2 separate regions of the Homo sapiens genome follow, and region 2 is linked to region 1. Evidence: promoter capture Hi-C in 16 types of primary human blood cells and fetal thymus (Javierre and others, 2016). All regions are on one chromosome and are shown on one strand. Each heading gives the region's core, a stretch centred on a gene start or on the middle of the fragment in contact. The rest is flanking DNA. Distances are from core to core; before and after follow the strand shown.

Region 1 (6,111 bases), core at 2,353-4,852:
GCTGAGATTACAGGCCTGAGTCACTGCTGCGCAGGCCACCAACTTCCCTTCTAAAGACACAAGGGGGAATTAGTCAACGGACTGGCTCTTAGGCCAAAAGTGAAAACAAATAGCCCTAAAAGTCACAGAAAATTCATCATTAAGATTATGTCTGTGCTACTCCTCAATATTTAAGAGAAAGCTTACTATAGCAGACAGTTTATTTTAAACTGATATGGCTTTATAAGGGCCCATTATTTTGGTTTTTAATGAGACCTAAAAGGAAATATTTTTTGGTTTTATTCATTGAAACAAACCCATTTCTTATATTTAAATATATTTATCTGTACTTCTCACATCTTTCCTACCTCAATTATTAAGTACAGGTTGACTATCAAATACCTATGTTTTACACAATATTATTATGGGTATCTTTTAACACCAAAAAAAATACCAACTACTATAGTGATAAATATACCAGTGATTATAAAACTGGTAATAGGGACAAAAAGGACAGAAGAGTGCCTAAAACATACCTAGGCATATATGGAAAAATGAAATACAACTACCTTTATGACCCCATAGGTAAGAAAAAGTTCCTTAAAAAAGAGATTAAAAAATACGAATCATAATGGCAGAGATTTATATTTTTGACATAAGAATTTCTGTTCAAAAAAAAGATACCCCAAAGGGAGTGAAACAATGATACCCCAATGAGCCACCTAAAACAGGAAGAGATCTACAATTCATATAACCCAAGGATTTCTTTTCAAAATATATAAAGAATGCAAATGAATTTTTTAAAATAGTATTTTAAATTAAAAACCCAATGAAAAAATGGGCAAAACACAGTAACAGGTATTATATAGAAATATAATTGGCTGCTAAATATATACATACAGCATGATTTACACAAAATGACAGGAAAACATTAAGATAGACATATGTGATTTATGCAAAAAAATTTTTTTTAATTTAAGCAAGAGACTAATTAACCCCAAACTGAGGATTTAATAGTTACTTCTGAGGGACAGGGATGCAACTGGGATAGGATGCAAGTACTGACTTTTTTTTTTAAGCTGGGTGGTTGCTACTTAGGTTTTTTTTGTTTAATCGGAATCATATATTAATTACCTATACTCTTCAAATGTATAGACCATAATAAAAAATTTCAAATACTGAGAATTTAACAAAATCAACAAATCTGAAAAAAGATTTAGGAAACTACACACACCATTAACCACTGGGCATTCATCATCCTTGGGATCCTGAAGTCGTGAAAGCGCCAGAACTGCCTGTATTCTCACATTTGGAATCTTATCTTTCAATCTAATAAGCATGGCTTTATTAATTTTATCAAACACATCATCATCAATCTGAGCATTTTCTGGCATACTTCCCAAAAGCTTGTTTATGAGCAGGCACACTCTAAATCTCACTGCATTGCTGTTTGCTTCATGAGACTAAAACAGAAACAAATCAAAATTTATTCATAGTCACATACCACTCCCAAATAATCAATATTATCTGAACTCTATACATTCGGAATGCAAGAAGTTACAACAACAATTCATTTCCTGAAGAGAACCTATAATGCTACCTTGGTCCATATGTATAGCAAATATATATATTTTATACAGTCTCAAAATGAACAGTCTGAAAGAAGTCTTTGCTAAGTTACATAGTCCTCTTTGTAGAGGCTTCTAAAATACAGAACTCATTTAAAATAAACAAAGGAGAACTGGTTTAAAGAGGTCATTAAAAATTTAATGCTGGAGTTAAAGTCCACTTTTTAATCATAATGATAATTCTAATATTTCCTATGAAAGGTAGACTCATTCAGGTTTTTTCAATCACTAGATATTTCATTGTCAAAAACATACAAACTCCCACGACTCTTTTAAAGTGGCAAAATTTTCTAAAATCCCTCCCCAAAGCTATCATTTTCATAGTACCTTTAAGAGAAAAGTAAACAAATAATTTAAAAGGCCACCATCTTCCTCTTCCTCATCATCTTCCATATCTGATTGGTGAAATGAGGTAACAAACTTTGCTGCAAATTCTATTACCCTCTCCACAGCTGGTTCACGTTTATAGACCACCATAACATATTTAAGGTAATGAATGAACTCCTCATGAAAAACTGTCTTATCATCCATCTGAAAGACAAAAGAAACCCTTCATAAACTGCACCGATAAAAATCCTTTATTCCCAACATCACCCTAAGACTGATGAAAGCACTAGCCATAATAATGCAGACAAATTAAAATATTTATTTAGTAAACTCTTAATTATCCAAACCAGCCAAAGGGCAATCAATTTGCATGAATTTCTCTCCAGGCTATAATGGGAGTACACAAGCTTGACTTTTGACAGTGAAAAGATTCCTTTGATATATTTTTTTCAATATCTTTGATTCTCAATAAGCCTTTAGTACCAGTACGTTACAAATACGCTTCTTCAACAACCCAAAATCAATACTGGCTTTTATATTTCTCATATTCAGGCCTTCCTATCACCAGCAGTTTCTTTATGAGATAACTTGCACATCCTATCTCATATCCTCAAAGCCCTGTGATGTTTACTCACAATTTTTCTTGGACCTCAAGATAATTCATCTTCCCCAAATTAATTGTTCTATTCTTCTCAAGGTTCCACTCAAAACAAACAAATAGTATGTACATAAATAAGAATGGCCAGGCCCTAAAAATAATTTGGTATTTGGTGATTGGATTCAACGTAACCGTAGGACAAGGGTAGAATCATTTGATGTTCGGCGGGGAGCGATGACCCCAGGGGCAACGACCACTGAACCCCCGCATTCAGGATCCACTCTGCGGTTCAATATTTGATGTCTGATCGCCTCGGTGGTCGTAAATGTTTCTCTCCACGTTCACGATCGGACTAAGGAATAACGGTCCACGCCGCCCAGAAGCTGGGGGTGTCGGCTCAGAAAAGCCAAGGCGGGGCCCGTGTGAACGACGCCCAGGCTTCGGAGGCTTTCTGGCCTGGGCCCAGGCGACCTCGGGTAAGTCCCTGACTTCTCCGAACCTCAGATCCCTATGAAGTGAGTCGCGAAGGTGAACAAGGCTGGAGTCACGGTGCGCCGAGCCCGAGGGCCACGGAGGGCCCCTGAGGGAGGGTGGGCCGGGGCGGGCGAGAGGCGGCGGCCGGGGCCGGGAGCGCTTACCGTGCGGTAGGTGCGGCTCAGCGCCACCACCAGCTTCGCCTGGTTCTGGTGCGGCTGCTGCGCCAGCCGAAAGGCCTCCTTAATCGACAGCAGCCTCCTTTCCGCTCCCATGGCTCTGGAACCCTGCCGGGACGAGTCCTGCCCGCGCTCGGCTACAGCCTGCCAGCCCGCCAACCCAGAGGCAGCGCTCTCCGAGTAGTCTTCTATGACAGCCCCAGGGAGTATTTACCGCTCGAACGTTCAAATAATTCCCGCGAGAGGGGGAAATCCCGCGAGACTGCCGTAAGCGCTTTGGGAGAAGAGAGCGGGAAGCGATGGGTCCACCCACCTCGCACCCCGCGCTTTGGGCGCATGCGTCTAGGTTCAACCTTGTCCAGCCGTTTTCACGGAGGGAAGTGGCGTTTCTAAGGGGGAGGGGCCTTGACTCGGCCGGAAGTAGCGTCGGCGCGGGAGCTGAGCGGAGTGGCCTTGCCACCGGAGGGGAAGGGCTGCTGGCGTTAGGCCTGGCTGGGTCGTGCGGCTGAGCGTGAGGCTAGAAAGAAAAAGCGATCCTCCAAGAGTGAGAACGGGAGATCTGCCGAGGATAACAACCTCCCTTGTGGCCGAAGGGCGGGGGATCCCCACACGAGGGCTCCGCTTCGAGAGACGGCGACAAAGGAAAGTTCGTAGCGCGTTCCGGAGGCCCGGCCACCTCTGAGAAGGGAGACGACGCTGCTGGGTCCGCTGAGCGGGGCGACCCGAGGTTAGTGGAGACGGATGCTGTCTTTTGAAGGCCTTAGTCCCTGCCCTGGTGAAGCCGACTGCGAGGTTCCACAGGGCGTGCAGGCAGTCCGGGGATCGTTGCGAAGGGGGGTGCGGGCTAACTTAGCTGCTGCCGTTTCTAGATGTGCAGCTGTGTAGGCCCTGTTTACAAGTGTGCATAAGGACAGTGTATTAAGGGAGAACTCAAGAGAATGGAAAGGTCTTTCGGGTAGTGGTTAAAATAAAGAAGAGTAGGAACTAGGTTTTTAAATTTTAAATGAAATTATATCAGACAGAACTTCTGTTGGATCTCAGGATGCACCATCCAAAAATAGGACTGTAGGAGACCAAAATATGCCACCCTACAATATACTTCTAGAGTATATTTTGAGCTGGTATTCTGATAAAATGCAGACACAGGAGTCGCTCTGAAAATCTGTCCTGTTGTAAAAGAAATTGACATCTACAGAGGAAATATACATCAGTAAAGGATCTGTATCAGAAAGAGGGCAGCTCTGCGATAATTTTTGTTACCTGGGAGATCTTATCTGCATACCAAGACAACTTTTATTCACCGTATATTTCCTCCCCTCACCTTTCCACAACTTTGTGGCCACCATCCCCCAGAAAGCCGCAAGCCCCCATTTCTTGAGTAGCGTAGGATGCTGTATAATATTCAATCATCTGACCATGGTGGGACTCCTCTGCGTATGTAATTAAGTACGGGTTTTTTTTCTTGTTAATGTCTATGTCAGGTTAATTTGTAACCCAGCCAAAGAACCTAGGAGGATGGAGGGAAGCCGTTTTTCCCTCTCCTACACCTCAGTAACCTACTGCCAGCTGAAGAAATAGAACATTACTAAAGCCACCTGTACATCTTTCTCCTTTTGAATTACCTGCCCTCCGAAGAAGTAATGGATTTTCTGAATTTACTGTTAACTTTTACCATGCAGCTTTCTATATCTTAATGACATATTTTAATATATTAATGACATGAATAAATCCCTGAATGAGGATATTGTACTATTTTGCATGTTTTAACCGTTAAATGAATAATTATATGTGCATCTGGCTTTTTTCAATCAATATTGCTGTGGTTCATATTGATATGTTCATAATAGTAACTTGCACTTAATTAACCTTTATTATGTGCCAGACACCATGCTAAGCACTTTACTTCGTTTACTGCTCACAAACCCTGTAGGATAACTTTGATCTTCTTTTAAGATGAGGAAACTACGGCACAGACAGGTTGCTATAGTACTCCATTGTATTAATATGCCATACCTTATCCATTCTCCTGCTTAATTCCTCAAACTTTGTAGATATTCAGCTGCTAGTTAAGAATGTGGTAACATTTGTGTTGCCCATAATTTTGCTTTGTGACGTTTCTAATATATATTTTTTTATTTTTATTTTGAGACAGAGTCTTGCTCTGTCGCCCAGGCTGGAGTGCAATGGCGCGATCTCGGCTCACTGCAACCTCTGCCTCCCGGGTTGAAGCGATTCTCCCGCCTCAGTCTCCCAAGTAGCTGGGTTACAGGCATGCACCACCACACCTGGCTAATCTTTTGTATTCTTAATAGAGACGGGGTTTCGCCATGTTGGCCAGGCTGGTCTCGAACTCCTGACCTCAGGTGATCCACCCGCCTTTGCCTCCCAAACTGTTGGGATTACAGGCGTGAGCCACCGCGCCCGGCTAGTATTTCTTTACTATATTCTATTTGGCTGTCTCACCAACAGAGACATCACACCATTTTGTCAGTTACAGAAGAATGAGACATCTGGCCGCCAGAGGTCAGCCTAACTATATTTCGGTTAGTTTTTTTTTTTGTTTTGTTTTGTTTTAATGGTTAAAGCCATGGGGGTATTGGTTCAGTATTTTTTGATATTATAATCTGAAAATATTTTTTCAAAGGTGCTAGATTAAATTTAAACAACATAGTATACTGCCTTAAAGCTTACATTTTTCCTGACTTTTGTACTGTGAAACAGAACAAAAACAATTATGGGAAAGTAAGAGCCTTTTTAAAAATTTTCTGAGTAACATAATAACTGAAGTATAGCCAATTAGTAATCTCACAGGTGCAATCTGGTTGAAGTGAAAATAGTAAAAATATTAGAGGACAGCACAATTAAAAGCCAACAGCTTCTCCTGTCTCAGTTAATAAAGACTTACGGTCCACGACAAAGAATGAAT
Region 2 (6,313 bases), core at 211-2,710, 4.2 Mb after region 1:
GTGCCACCACGCCCTGCTAATTTTTGTATTTTTAGTAGACACAAGGTTTCACCGTGTTGGCCAGGATGGTCTCGATCTCCTGACCTCGTGATTCGCCCAGTAGGCATGAGCCACCGCGCCCGGTCGAGGGTTTTCTCATAGTATGTTTAGTTGTTCTGAGGAGCTTTGTATCTTTGAGAAATGCATGTTTACAACATCCACAGTTTCTTCTAAAGCTTTCAGGTGAACTGCACACAGTTCCACTATGTCTTCTGGGGAAACTCTTGAATATCCTGGTACATCTTCCTTTATAAGGACTCATACTGGGCCCACTATGTAAAACGTGGTTTTTCGGGATATTGGAGGTTTTGCACCACAGAGAATTCAATTCACTTGGGAGTGTTCATCTATTTAGGAAGTATAGTTTTTTTTACTTTTGTCTTCAGGAATATGCACTGCTACCTTTTAGAAATAATTTCTATTGCCTTTATTATTTTTGTTGTTATTTAATGGGAAAAGGTTAGACATGGCCAGGTAAATGTTATCAAATAAAGTTAGTTATTCGTATTCAACAAGTGGAATTTTTACTTTGCTGTTCTCAGAAACCCATGAATCTGTGTGTTCTCAGAAACCCATGAATCATTATGTATACAAATTAAAAATTGTAATGTACTGCTGCAATGTCTGAGGCTCAACTTTTTTATTATCCTATTCCCACAAAATGTTATTGGTATGTGTCTATAATATCCCTGCCAGACCCTTCAAAGTAAAGGATTAAAACCTTTTTTGGAGGGAAGGAGGGAAGCACAGTATCTCTGATCATCTAATGAAAGTTAGGACCTTCTCTCAAGAAAAATGCGCAAGTAACACATTAAAACGCTGTTTTTCTACTTCAGAATGGTCAACTATAGGCAATTTCATGAGAATCAATCTAATAACATATACAGTTTCAGTGAGTTCAGGAACCATGGAATAAGAACCTATTTTAATGTTCTTAGCCTCTTTTTTGAGGTCAAGAATTGAATGATATTGTTACAACAAAACTCTTCCATTCCGAGGCACAGTACTTGTTTATATGAACAAGGTTTCTCAGGGCGCATGACTATAAAAATTAGAAATAGGAATAGAATTGATGATCAACCCTTCTTCTAGTAATAAGACATATTCAGCCACAGATGCAGGAACTTTAAAAAGCAACAGTATGGCCAGGCCCGGTGGCTCATGCCTGGCCACCGTGGGCCAAAGTAGAAGATTCCCTGTTCATGCAAAGAACCATCACTTTAATGGAATCCTTGAGTTTCATCTGCCACTTGAACCTCAAAGACTGACCTGCTTTCTGTCAAAAAGTCTTAACTTGTAGCATATAGAGTTATAGTGGATTATGTCTGTCACGTGCATATTTAAGAATGAAGACATTTGATACCTGCCAGGTGCTAAGAGCAAAACTGTCATCCAGTTTAGTGTGTTTAAACCAGGATGAGAAGTACCAAAGTCTGCTGCTACACCAGAAGACCACAGAACCCTGGTCTTCTGGGAGGCCGAGGTGGGTGGATCATTAGAGGTCAGGAGTTCGAGGCCAACCTGACCAAAATGGTGAAACCCCATCTCTAGTAAAAATACAAAAAAAGTAGCCATGTATGGTGGCACATGCCTGTAGTCCCAGCTACTCGGGAGGCTGAGGCAGGAGAATTGCTTGAAGCCAGGAGACAGAGGTTGCAGTTAGCCGAGATTGTGCCAGTGCACTCCAGCCTGGGAGACAGAACAAGACTTGGTCTAAAAAACAAAAATTTTTAAAAAGCAACAATACACATTTTTCAATACAGTTGCATATACTATTTAATAATTATGAAAATTTCTAATATTTCTGTTGCTTTGAGAAATTAGAACTGAAATGACACCCTCCCAGACAAAAAAGAACACTCAGCTATGGTTGAAGTTCTGGTGCTCAGACGCTAGCTTAAACTCTCCCACAAAATCTCTCTCTCTCTCCCCCTCCCTGCCACTAACCTCTGTACCTGCTCCTGGTTATGTTACAGGTTATGTTCTGGTACTTCCTTTACCCCATGACTCTCTCCTTCTCTTCTACTCCCTTAGTTAGCAATTAGGTAGATTTTAATTTGATTTAAAAGATTTGTTCTCATTGAATACCATTTTATACTTCATTTTCTTATTTGAAAAAAAAAAAAATATATTCCCCCCTGCTTCCCAAAAAGCCAAAGTTTTCTTCATCAGAACATAACATTCATATCAATATGATGAGTGGGCCAAAGTAGAAGATTCCCTGTTCATGCAAAGAACCATCACTTTAATGGAATCCTTGAGTTTCATCTGCCACTTGAACCTCAAAGACTGACCTGCTTTCTGTCAAAAAGTCTTAACTTGTAGCATATAGAGTTATAGTGGATTATGTCTGTCACATGCATATTTAAGAATGAAGACATTTGATACCTGCCAGGTGCTAAGAGCAAAACTGTCATCCAGTTTAGTGTGTTTAAACCAGGATGAGAAGTACCAAAGTCTGCTGCTACACCAGAAGACCATAGAACCCCCCTCCAAACTGTCCAGGGTCATTGATAGTCCTTAACCAGGAGAGAGATCTGACTGTAACAGACCAAATCAGCCCTTCCCACCCAAAGAAATGGAACCATGGGCAACCCTAAGCTCCAACTACTGCAAAGACTCCTCCGTTATAGACTACCAGTTTCCAGATCTCTGGAGCAAGCTTAGTGGTTACAAAGCCATTCTGTCTCCTTTGCACTGATTAGCATCTGGAGCGTGTGAGGAGGGATGATCAAGAGGCCCTTCAGGGAGCTCGCCAGCCAGGTAAATATGGTACCTCTCTTGTCAAGTAAGAAAGTCTGATTTTTTGGACACTTTCTTAGTTATAAATGGCCCCTGGTCAATTTATTCACCCAACAAACATTCATTGAGCAACTCTTATGTACCAGTCATTTTTTTAGGTGCCAGGGATACAGCAGTGAACCAAACATCCCACTGTTATGGAGCTTACATCCTAGTAGAAAAAAAAAATAGACAACAAGTAATGTATGGTAGGTCCTATGGAAAAAAGCAAGATGAGGGATGGATGGGCTTACTGTTTTATTTCGAATAAGCTGTTCAGGGTAGGTTTCAATGTGATGATACTTGAGCCATCTGTGAAGGAATTGAAGGGGCAATGCAGCTGTCTGGGGCTTGAGCATTCCAAGAAGAGAGCATAGCAAGTATAGAAGAGCTGAGACAGACCCACTAAGGGGAAAGTGACAAGAGGTGAGGTAGGTATGCCTTCACAGATCTGGCAGGTCTTGGGAGCCATCAGAAGACCTTGGCTTTTACTCGAGCTCAGAAGCCATTGGCAGGTTTTGAGCAAAAGAAGGACATGATCTGACTTCCATTTCAGATGGGTTGACCACGTGTAATAGCTTCCCCTTTCTTGCTAAGTTGTGATTTGAATGGGTCAATAAATTACATGGTTACCTGATTTTTAGAAGACAACTTTGTTGTAGGTAAGGATAGAATTCTGCATGAGGCCAGTTGTTATAATTCAGACAGATGAGAATGCCTTGGAACAGATTGAGGTCAGTAAAGGTAGTGGGAAGTGGTCAGATTCTGGGTGTATTTTCATGCTACTGTTGAGAGAATTTGCTAATAGTATGCATGTGAAGTAGAAGACAAAGGGAGGACTCAAGGATAACTCTAAGGCTTTTCACCAAAGCACTGGAAAAGGAAGAAAGGGTGGAAGTATGTGTAATATATGTGTGTGTGTATATATGTGTACATGTGGGTACATACATGTTCCTAGGAGAATACTTCTCAATGAATACTTAATATTTCTCTAGTTGCTCAACTTTTTACTGAAAGGAGAGCTTGAAAACAAGGAAAATTACCTGTTGAGTAGTTCAGATTTGAACTTGTTCTGGGAAGACTAGACTAGAATGCCAAATGCATTGTGATGTTAGAGCCTAATGAATGTGTGTTAGATTTGGGAATACCGGAAAGAAGAATTAGGCTTTAGAATCATTGGGGAGAAAGAATTAAGAATTAGTTTTAGGGCTGGGTATGGTGGCTGACACCTGTAATCCCAGCACTTTGGGAGGCCGAGAAAGGTGGATCACTTGAGGTTAGGAGTTCAAGACCAACATGGCCAATATAGCAAGACCTTGTCTCCACTAAAAATACAAAAATTAGCCAGGTGTGGTGGCGCATGCCTGTAGTCCCAGCTACTCAGGAGCCTGAGGCACTAGAATCACTGGAACCCGGCAGGTGGAGGTTCCAGTGAGCCGAGATCACACCACTGTACTCTAGCATGGGCAATCGAGCAAGACTCTGCCAAAAAAAAAAAAAAAAAAGAATTAATTTTAGTTCATATCGATTTTGGATAAATGGACAGGCACATAGGAAATGATCATGTAGGACAGGAAATAAGTATCAGCAAAGGCCTGAAAATTGGAACTGATGAAAGGGCATCAGAGGGATAAAATGTTTGTCATTCTGTGTTAGAGATAGTTACCCATTCAGCTAACAAGTATATTTTAATTGCTCATTTGCCAAGCAGTGTGATAGGCTATATGAAAACAAATTGTAAGAGAGATAGAGGAGGAGGCTTACACATCAATGGAGGATAAATATGCCTTGCTTCCGAAAATACAATGTAGTGCAAGAATTGCTCGAATGGTAGCATGTATAGAAAACAGTAGGAGCGTGGATGAAGAGCCCATAAGCCTACCTTCGGTGTCAAGATGATTTCACAGATTAGGGTGAGCTCTGAAGGTGAGAAGTTTGTCAGATGGACAACCAGAGGGAATGGTAGTTGCAGGATGGTAGGTGCAGATATGAGAATTTCTCACTGGAGTGTAAACTTTGAAGCTAAAAGGAGGCAAATGGCAGAAGGTGAGGCTATACAGTGCTTGCTTAATATCAGTCAGGGACACTCAAACTCATCCACATTAAAAGCTGTATAGAAGAAAGGTAGAAAGAACATCAGTGTTGGGAGACAGCCTCTAGAAATGGAGTGCAGTGCTGAGTGCTTGGTCACATATTCCTTCCAGGCAATGCCCCTTCAGGTAGAGATGATGTAATATGTGTTCCCCTCCATGTTCCCCTCAGGGAGCACATCAAGGGTTCTCAGACTCAGCACTGTCGACATTTGGGGCTGGATAGTTCTTTGCTGTCGGGGGATTGTCCTATGCATTGTAGGATCTTCAGTAGCATCCTTGCCCTTGACCCACTAGATGCCAATAGCACTCTCATCAGTTGTAACAACCTAAAATGTCTCCAGACATTGCCAAGCGTCCCTTGGGGGATGAGAGTGAAATCCTTCTTGGTAGAGAACCATTGCCTTACCTCAGATTTAATGCCTAGTTCAAGTAGTTGTCCCTCAATAATTTCTCTTGGGTCTATGCCATTAGCTGGTTTCTGCCACCCCAGTAAAGACCTTCCTCACTGTAGTTTATTGCATGCTTTCCTAAAGTATTTTGTGTCTCTTTACTCTTGCACTGTAGGATGATTAACCATCAGAAAGCTTAGCTGTTCTATCACTCTGCCCATATGTGCAGTGGGCTCCCATTCTCTACCCTGTAATTCCAAACTTGTACAAGTAACCAAAGCTTTTTAGCACCTGGCCCCAACCTCTCTGTCTTAACCTCATTTCTCTGCTTTTTGTATTCTCTTCTATAGCCAAATTGGACCACCAATTTGGAGGCTCACTAAATGCTCCTGGCCTCCAGTTTGCTCATCCACTTGCTCTTTGTTTACATTGACTGTATGAGCAAAGCCAGCCATTCTCATTCCCAGCTTCCTTGTGCAATTGATTTTTCCAGCTCAAATGGCACATTTTCAGTGAAGGCATGCTTCCTCAGCTCTTCTCCCTTTTTTACTCCAAATCATCTAATAATAACACTTGTTCGTGTCTTATTTTCCAGTCCTTTGTCTATAAATAAGAGGTGTATCTTTCTTCTTTATATTCCTCATATCTCCAAACACCTTGTCTTACACAAAATAAGTAGTATTTGAATGAGTGTAAGTTATCTTGAAGCAGAATTGTCAGAAACTGTGAAACTTTGTTGTCCCATGGTAAAAATACTTTTCTGAGAGGTGAATATTGATACTGTATAACCTTGAAGACTTACCTTCGTTTTTTTCTCTCTAGCCTGCGTATCAGAATCTGAGACAGCGTGTTGACAACTTTGTTGCAAATCACTTGGCAACTCACACATGGAGTCCGCATCTCAATAAGAACCAGCTAAGAAACAACATTAGACAACAAGTCCTCAAGTAAGTCTCAGAGATAGAGTTCTGGGCAGGTTTTAAATGTCCTAACCTACTTTGCCTGAAAGCG

Evidence for each region. The method cuts DNA at HindIII sites, captures the fragments that hold promoters and counts their contacts. A CHiCAGO score of 5 or more calls a contact.
Region 2: a fragment that was not itself captured here is called in contact with the fragment with the promoter of DCAF16 in region 1 in 1 of 17 cell types (non-activated CD4 T cells); the score reaches 9.4 in non-activated CD4 T cells.

What each region holds. Positions count from the first base shown.
Region 1 is chr4:17,808,248-17,814,358 of GRCh38, reverse strand. It overlaps DCAF16 (DDB1 and CUL4 associated factor 16), which reads left to right and starts at 3,602. Exons shown (of 3, transcript NM_017741.4): 1 at 3,602-3,912. It overlaps NCAPG (non-SMC condensin I complex subunit G), which reads right to left and starts at 3,380. Exons shown (of 21, transcript NM_022346.5): 1 at 3,171-3,380; 2 at 1,935-2,138; 3 at 1,214-1,442. The coding sequence starts at 3,281. RefSeq lists enhancers at 2,909-3,421, 3,695-3,854, 3,422-3,933, 3,975-4,064, 5,684-5,833. The HindIII fragment of the contact is 3,530 bases long and covers 2,344-5,873 here.
Region 2 is chr4:13,619,879-13,626,191 of GRCh38, reverse strand. BOD1L1 (biorientation of chromosomes in cell division 1 like 1) reads left to right here. Exons shown (of 26, transcript NM_148894.3): 2 at 6,125-6,249. Among named protein-coding and RNA genes, the nearest start is that of BOD1L1, 4.7 kb to the left of the region's middle. The HindIII fragment of the contact is 2,486 bases long and covers 218-2,703 here.